Linked DNA regions of Homo sapiens: region 2 is linked to region 1. The links are contacts of gene promoters, found by promoter capture Hi-C in blood cells and fetal thymus (Javierre and others, 2016). All regions are on one chromosome and are shown on one strand. Each heading gives the region's core, a stretch centred on a gene start or on the middle of the fragment in contact. The rest is flanking DNA. Distances are from core to core; before and after follow the strand shown.

What was found. The method cuts DNA at HindIII sites, captures the fragments that hold promoters and counts their contacts. A CHiCAGO score of 5 or more calls a contact.
Region 2: a contact is called between a fragment that was not itself captured here and the fragment with the promoter of RRM1 in region 1, in 11 of 17 cell types (total CD4 T cells, total CD8 T cells, non-activated CD4 T cells and 8 more). The highest score is 14.8, in total CD4 T cells.

The regions. Positions count from the first base shown.
Region 1 is chr11:4,092,701-4,096,832 of GRCh38, reverse strand. It overlaps RRM1 (ribonucleotide reductase catalytic subunit M1), which reads right to left and starts at 2,034. Exons shown (of 19, transcript NM_001033.5): 1 at 1,802-2,034. The coding sequence starts at 1,820. It overlaps STIM1 (stromal interaction molecule 1), which reads right to left. Exons shown (of 13, transcript NM_001382567.1): 13 at 3,625-4,132. RefSeq lists enhancers at 1,805-2,274, 2,335-2,404. The HindIII fragment of the contact is 7,950 bases long and covers 1-2,739 here.
Region 2 is chr11:3,812,715-3,816,761 of GRCh38, reverse strand. All of the region lies in intron 2 of PGAP2 (post-GPI attachment to proteins 2), which reads right to left. It overlaps LOC124902618 (a long non-coding RNA gene), which reads left to right. Exons shown (of 3, transcript XR_007062559.1): 2 at 1,501-1,577. Among named protein-coding and RNA genes, the nearest start is that of PGAP2, 6.2 kb to the right of the region's middle. The HindIII fragment of the contact is 495 bases long and covers 2,048-2,542 here.

The DNA of each region.
Region 1 (4,132 bases), core at 785-3,284:
ATCTAAAGATTTAAAAAATAGATGCTCAAGCCAGGTGCGGTGGCTCCCAGCACTGTAATCCAAGCACTTTGGGAGGCTGAAGTGGGAAGAATGCTTGAGCCCAGGAGTTCAAGACAAGCCTGGGCAACATAGCGAGACTCCTTCTCTAAAAAAATACAAATAAATAATAATGTAAAAAAATAAAAATACAAAAATAGATGCTCAGCTCTCACTCTTATGAATGGATCAATAAAAGTGCACTATGTTATTTTGCTCTTTGGTCAGCTAAAATGTGAGCTAGGAAAATTCACAGAATGATGTTCTCAAGATACCAAAAACAAGAAAGGCCACTACTGTCCACCTTTCCAACTCTTGTCTGTAGTTAAACCAATCTGGACATTGGCTGTAGTTAAACCAAATCAACTACCTGCTTATTCACAGCATTCATCGTGTCCTACATTTTGATACAACTATTTTCATTCATTCTTTAAGAATCTGTTCATGTCAGGTCCTGTGCTAAACGTGAACAGAAAAGTCTCCATCTTGCTTGTATTCCCAGCACTTTGGGAAGCCAAGGAAGGGAGGATGGTTTGAGGCCAGGAATTCAAGGCCAGACTGGGAAACACAGCAAGACTCCTTTACTACCAGAAATTTTTAAAAATTAGCCACTCATGGTGGTGCATGCCTATAGTCCCAGCTACTTGAGAGGCTGAGGCAAGAGCATCGCTTGAGCCCAGGACTTCAAGGTTACAGTAAGCTATGATTACACCACTGCATTCCATCCTGGGTGACAGAGCAAGACTCTGTCTCAAACAAGTCTCCATCTTTGAAATGTTCACAGCCTAGAGGACAAAATAGAAACAACCAGTCGATTAACCAGTATTTACTAAGTGCCTACAATTTTGAAATCATTGTATTGCTTTAACAAAGGCAAGTAGGTTCAACTCAAAACTTGTTCATACGTATCTCATGCGGTTGTTAAAAGTATGTTGCTCTTGTTTTTCCAACCCGATGAAGCCTGTTCCCAAGGCAGGGACTGTCTCCTCCTACAATCTCACAAAGCCAAGCAAAGGGCTGGGCACAAAGCGGGCACTTGGCAAGTCTAATGAAAAAGAACTGTTGAGAAAGAATACGAGTTCCTGACTCTTCCCAGTCCCCATCTTGTCAGAAGATGTCTCAGCCACCCTTCTCTGATTCAGCATCTCTTCCCATGAAGGGAAAGGAACTCGAGGGTGCTGTCTGTCTGGGATCTGTTTTTTCCACGCCACACTCCTATCCTCACCCCACAAAAGAGATCAGTAAACTGACAAGTGCCTACGGAGGGTAGAGAGGCCCCCTCCTTCTTTCCTAGCTGCCCCCCGACCCTGTGCCTAAGACAGCTCACCAACCCCACGGTTTTCAAATCAAACCGTATTGTCACCTATGGGTGACTTTGGGTCAGTCGGCGACACCTCGCTCTGAGCGTCAGTTTCCTCATCTGTAATAAGCTAATCATCTCTCAGAGGCTTGCAGGGAGGAATAAAATAGTGCCTGGCAAGTGCTCGGCGTACGCAGTCACTACTCGATACGGGGTAAGTGTTATCCTTTTGAAAGGCGGCAGGATGACAAAGCCGAGGGGGCGCAGCCTGAAGGCCCGAAGGAGGTTCGGGGCAGGCTGACTGAAGACAGAAGGCCGAGCGGGCTGACAGGGCGGAAGGCCGCGGCGGGAAATGCGGGAAAGGCGGGAAGCAGCGAAGGCGGGCGGGCGGTCTGGGCATCAGCTCCGGCGGCGGCAGCCCGCATCCCCTCACCTTCCTTCTCGCCCACCTCGTCCCCCCCTCACCTCGCTTGATCACATGCATCGCAGCTAGTGGCTGAGGCTCTGAAGGATCCAAGACTGGACTGCGGCTCTAAAGCGCCGGCGGGATCGAGAAGGTGACAGAGTGGGAAGGGTTAGGTTCCAGGCGCTGCTCAGGGGAAAGAACTGGAGTTGGAGCCAGACAGCACTTTCTTCAGAGCAGAGGCGCAACAATCCAAATCCCCTTCCCGCGCCCGCCACCCGTGACGCACAAAGGGGCGCGACGGGGTTCGAATGACGTTACTCGACGCTGCGGCCCACGCCCGGGGTAGGCTTCACAGACTGACAGGCGACGTGTAGCCGCCATGTTGAGTCTGGGCAAGACCCAGAAGACTACGCCTCTCCCATGGGCCCCATTGGATATGGACATGCCCGGCGGAAATGCTGCTCTCCTGCTACCATGTTTTGTGTGGGCAAGCCGAGTTCGGGACCCTCGGGGCCCTGGCGTAGCACCTAGAGCCCGCTGGGTCAGGCGCCGCCCTCTCACCTGCGCGTCTCCGCCGGAGGAAAGGCGGTTAATTTATTTTTGAAATAACAAAACCTAACCGGCGGGAACGTTTTTCTTGCTCTGACATTTATTATAATAATACTAACACTGCCGTCCGCTGTGGGCTCCAGCCCAGGCTCCACAGCCGTGGGCAGCTTGGAGCCCCAGGGCTTTTAGATCGGCCAGAGGACTGACACTCTGGAACTGGAAGAAAACCGCGCAAGGCCGATGGCGTTTGGATTTTATCCTGACGCAAATCAGAGCCCTGAGAGAATTTTAAGCAGGGCAGGGTCAGTACCCATTTGCTTTTAGGGTTCTTCAGTGGATGGTGGCAGAGACAGGGTATTTGCCTTGTGGAGGTAGGATGGACTTGGTGACTTAGAGTGGAGAATAAGAATAGATGAGAACCGTAATATGTAAGGCTGGTGTAGAAGCTTCTGATTTGGGCTACCCAAAGCGATCTTTATGAAATTTCATCTGTGGCATCTTTTCCCTAAAGCCTTTTCGTTGGTTTCTCACTGCCCTCCAGAAGCTGCCCAGGCTCCCTGTGAAGTAATTTCAAAAATCATGGAAAGTCGTAAGTGAGCCTGTAATTGCAGCATTTTGGGAGGCTAAGGCGGGAGCATCATGTGAGGCCAGGTGTTGAGATAAGCCTGGGCAACATAGTGAGACCCCATTTCTACAAAAAATAGAAAAAGTAGGCCAGCGCGGTGCTTCACTCCTGTAATCCCAGCACTATGGGAGGCCAAGGCGGGCAGATCACGAGGTCAGGAGTTCGAGACCAGCCTAACCAACGTGGTGAAACCCCCCCGCTGCTAAAAATACAAAAAGTAGCCAGGCATGGTAGCACGCGCCTGTAATCCCAGCTACTCAGGAGGCTGAGGCAGAAGAATCGCTTGAACGCTGGAGGCAGAGGTTGCAGTGAGCCAAGATCGCGCCATTGCACCCTAGCCTAGGCAAGAGAGTGAGACGCCGTCTCAAAAAAAACAAAAAAAAAGAAAGAAAAATTAAATAGATATGTTTTTTAAAAGTCGTAAGTGAAGTTATAGGATAGATAGGGTCAAGTTTACCCAGACATAGGGTTTCCCAATTTAGCAAATAAAAATGTGTCCCAGATACTGCATGAGAGAAAATTATACTTTAAAAACTGTTTATCTGAAATTCACATTTAACTGGTCATCCTGCATTTATCTGGTAACCCTGCCCACAGAGCTTCTGGGCATGTGCATTCAAGTTTCATTTTCCCTGGGCAAAGGAAAGATTGTCTCTTTATCCCATCATGCCACAGCACAGAGAACACAATGAGAGTCAAAGCCAGCAGTGGTTAAAATCTCCTACATGCTTTATTGGACTTCAAAGAATTTTATGAAATAACACAGAAAACCCCATTTGAGGGTGTCCAGGGAGTACAAGGCAGTCTGCAGCCTAGCACCCTCCTAAGACCAGCCCCAGGTATACCCACCCCAGGCCCAAAATAGGATCCCAGGATAAAGGTATGGCAGGGAGTGGGGCAGAGGAAAAATACCTTTACAGCCATAGCAAAAACAGGTAAGGGAGAGAGTTGTCTAGAGGGTGGGAAGGGTGGGGGAAAGTGGTCACACAGCCGCCTTCACCTATACCATCTTCCTTAGCCACCCCTTCCCCAAACTGGTTGTGTCCTTTTTGAGCCTCTGGCCAAGGCTACAAAGTAACATGAAAATGGGATCTAACAAGGGGAATATGCAGCGTAGGCACTTGGGAAATTCAGATTACTTTTTTTCCTTTTAACCTGTTTGTCTTTTGGTTCAAAAAATGACAGCATCCTTGCCCAACAACTCCAGGGCTCCATA
Region 2 (4,047 bases), core at 1,046-3,545, 280 kb after region 1:
CCCAGAGCCTATTTCAATGGGGCCACAGGCTGCCAGCCATTCCACCCCCAGGCTCTGAATGATCCAAGCCTCAGGCCAGCGGTACCCTGATCCTAAAATACCAGGTCCCTGTGGAAGCCCAGACCTACATCTCCTCCCTCTCTGAGGAGATGCAATGTCACCCAATCCAAGGTTTGGGGGAATCTGAGGGTCATGGAAACCTTCTCCACTGAGCTTGAGCCTGCTGTCCTGGGCCAGACCCAGGAGATCTCTGTCCAGGTCAGACCCAGACCCAGGGAACTGAGCTTCTTCCAATCTCTTCTCCCTCCTGGCCGACAACTCCCCCTCACAACCCCACTGCCCAAACACCTTGACCCCTCAAGCTGGGCTTCCCTCTGGATCAAGCTGAGGCAGACAGAGATGGCTTGATATTAAAAGGCCTAGGACCCAATCTCCCCTCGGCACTCATACTTCCCTCCACTAAGGAGACCCAGGAATGGGGTGGGGGCCTCATGAAGGAACACTCACACTCGGTGCTGAAGAATCCGGGTCTTGGGTTGAAGGTTGTAGCCAGACTGGGACTATTCTAAGACTGGAGGATCCCACCCCCTGCTCCTCAGGGCCTGCCCTCCCGCCCACAGTACCCAATTCTCCACGCCTGCCCAGGCACACATCCTTCCCAGGATCAACAAGCATATGTCATAAATCCTAGAACACTCTGCAAAGGGAAGAAGTGATAGTGGCTGAGGTCAGCTGGCAGTAGCTTCTTTGCCAGTGATGGGGGCAGGGACCTTCCTGAGAGTTGTATCCAGGGTCATAGGCAGGTTTCCAATAAGGGAAAGAGAGAAAGCAAAAAGGGGTCTGGCCGTTTTTTGTTAGAGCAGGACTGAGAGGGCTTGTTGGGCCTCACTGGAGAAATGGCTAAATCCTATGATGACAGAAGCAGGATACAAAAGAGATCTCAACAAGCCTGAATATGAGATATCGATGTTCAGCCTGTACCTGTGCAGAAACAGCTAATAGCAGCTCAGGCTGCCTCAACAGAGGTCTAACAGCCAGGAATAAGAATGAATAGTCCTGCTTTTGCCTGTACTGCCCAGGCCACCTGGAGTTCTATACCCAAATCAAGGCCCAGCAGAGAACAGTGACAAACTGGGCCAAGTTCAACGGTACATTCAGGATAGGGAAGAGCCTGGAAACCATTTCCTTGGAAGGTTGCCTGAAGGAACTGGATTGCCTGAGGTCAGGAGTTCGAGACCAGCCTGGGTAACACAGTGAAACCCCGTCACTACTAAAATACAAAAAGTTAGCCAGTCATGGTGGCGGTGTGCCTGTAATCCCAGCTACTCGGGAGGCTGAGACAGGAGAATCGCTTGAACCTGGGAGGCGGAGGTTGCAGTAAGCCGAGATCGTGCCATTGCACTCCAGCCTGGGTGACAAAGCGAGATTCCATCTCAAGAAAAAAAAAAAAAGAAGAAGACAGACTCAAGGCCCCTCATTACTGTCTTCTTGTCTCTACAGGGCTGACCTGAAGCCACGAGGAGAGAATAGTTCTACGGCAAAGCAGAGCCAGGGCCAAGGCAGAGACTCACCGGAAAGTAAGTACATACTCACTATAAGTAAAAGCTTCAGCCTGGCCAGCATAGTGAAACCCCATCTCTCCTAAAAATACAAAAAATGAGCCAGGCACGGTGGTGCATGCCTGTAATCTCAGCTACTCGGGAGGCTGAGGCATAAGAATGGCTTGAACCCAGGAGGCAGAGGTCGCAGTGAGCCAAGATTGTGCCACTGCACTCCAGCCTGGGCAACAGAGCAAGACCCTGCCTCAAAAAGAAAAGAAAAGAAAGGAAAGGAAAGGGAAAGGGAAAGGGAAAGGGCAAGGGAAAGGGAAAGGGAAGGAAAGGAAGAAAAGAAAGAAAAGAAAGAAAGAAGGAAAGAAAGAAGGAAAAAAAGAAAAAAAGAAAGAAAGAGAAAGAAAGAAAGAAAGAAAGAAAGAAAGAAAGAAAGAAAGAAAGAAAGAAAGAAAGAAAGAAAAGAAGGAAAGAAGGAAAGAAGGAAAGAAAAAGCTTGGGCTAGGCACAGTGGCTCAAGCCTGTAATCCTAGCACTCTGGAAGGCTGAGGCAGGAGGATCACTTGAGCTCAGGAGTTGAAGACCAGCCTGGGCAACATAGTGAGAAACTATCTCTGTTAAAAGAAAAAAAAGAAGAAGAAAGAAAAAAAAAAGAGGCTGGGCATGGTGGCTCACGCCTTTAATCCTAGCACTTTGGGAGGCCAAGGCAGGTGGATCACCTGAGGTCAGGAGTTCGAGACGAGCCTGGCCAACATGACGAAACCCCGTCAATACCAAAAATACAAAAATTAGCCAGGTGTGGTGGCGGGCACCTGTAATCCCAGCTACTCAGGAGGCTGAGGCAGGAGAATTGCTTGAACCCAAGAGGCGGAGGTTGCAGTGAGCTGAGATCACAACACTGCACTCCAGCCTAGGCGACAGAGTGAGACTACATCTAAATAAAAATAAAGAAAGAAAATAAAAGAAAAAGGCTAATTATTAGTTATTAAGCTTCCTTAGAACAGGCTACCTGGGGAGGAAGGAAGCTCCCCATCACTGGGGATATGCGAGCAGAGGCAAAGTAATCAATTACAGATATGATGGACTAGCTTGCTTCTTTTATTCCTAGGGCTGGCCATTTCTGGGATACTCTGAGTGGGAAATTCAGAGCAAATATAAAAATTCCAAGGTGGAACCAACACCGTAGGCTCAGGCAGTGGGGACAACATACCCTCAGGGTCACAGACCTAGTACTGCTCCAGAGGGACCAAGTACTCCAGCAACTATCTATATCTTAATTCCCTAACTGGTATGCCCAGAACAGGTAATAGGTATGCAAGGTATGCAATAACCTAGCTAATAGGGTATTGATGCCATCAGCCCTTGGGGTCAGCCATAAGGGGCAGAGCAAACAGCCTAGTCTGTTTAACTCCATATACTATACAAATATTATAATTTTGCTTGGACTATGATTGACTTATACCATGCCTTCCTTTCCCCAGGGCACTGGGCTAGGGAGTCTTAATCATTTATTCAACCAACACTTTCTGGCCAGGCACAGTGGCTCACGCCTATAATCCCAGTGCTTTGGGAGTCGAGGTGGGAGGATCACTTGAGGTCAGGAGTTCAAGACCAGCCTGGGCAACAGTGTGAGACCCCGTCTCCACACACATACACAAAAATTAGCTGGGCATGGTTGTGCATACCTATTGTCCTAGCTACTCAGGAGGCTGAGGCAGGAGGATTACTTGTGCCCTGGTGGTTGAGGCTGCAGTGAGCTATGATCATGCCACTGCACTCCAGCCTAGGCAACATGGCGAGACCCCATCTCCACAATTTTTTTTTTAATTAAGCTGGGTGTAGTGGCTCACATCTGTAGTCCTAACTACTCAGGAGTCTGAGGTTAGGAAGACTGCTTGATCCCAGGAGTTTGAGGCTGCAGTGAGCTATGATCATGCCACTACACTCTGGCCTGGGTGACGGAAATGAGACCCTGCCTCTAAAACAAATAAAAAAACCCAAATACTTTCTCACTCAAATGCAGTGCCTGCCTTCAAGGAGATCCCCATCTGGTTGGGAAGACAGACACAAATATGATGTGATAGATAACACAGGGAACTGTGGGCACCCAGAGGAGGGAGTGATTACATTAGCCCCAAGGAGGATAGGGAAGACATTTTAGAGCTAGCGGGGCAGGGTTTTGCGGGATGATCAGGAGTGGCTAGCGTAACAGGAATATCTGATGCATTATCTGAGATAATAGGTACTAGGTCATGTACTAGGTCACAAAAGGGTACTCCTTCCCTTCAGATCGCCTGTTCGCCCTTTTCGTCCAGTTCTTTCTAATAGCTCCCAGCCCCAGGTCTCATCAGATTGGGTGTCCATACCTCAACACCCATGTCTACCCACTGACAAATCAGGAGGAGAGGAAACTCCAGTCACATGAAGTAAAGAAGTGGGGCTCCACCCCATACTCACAGCTAGACCCCACTGCTAATCCTAGCCATTTCTCTGAAGC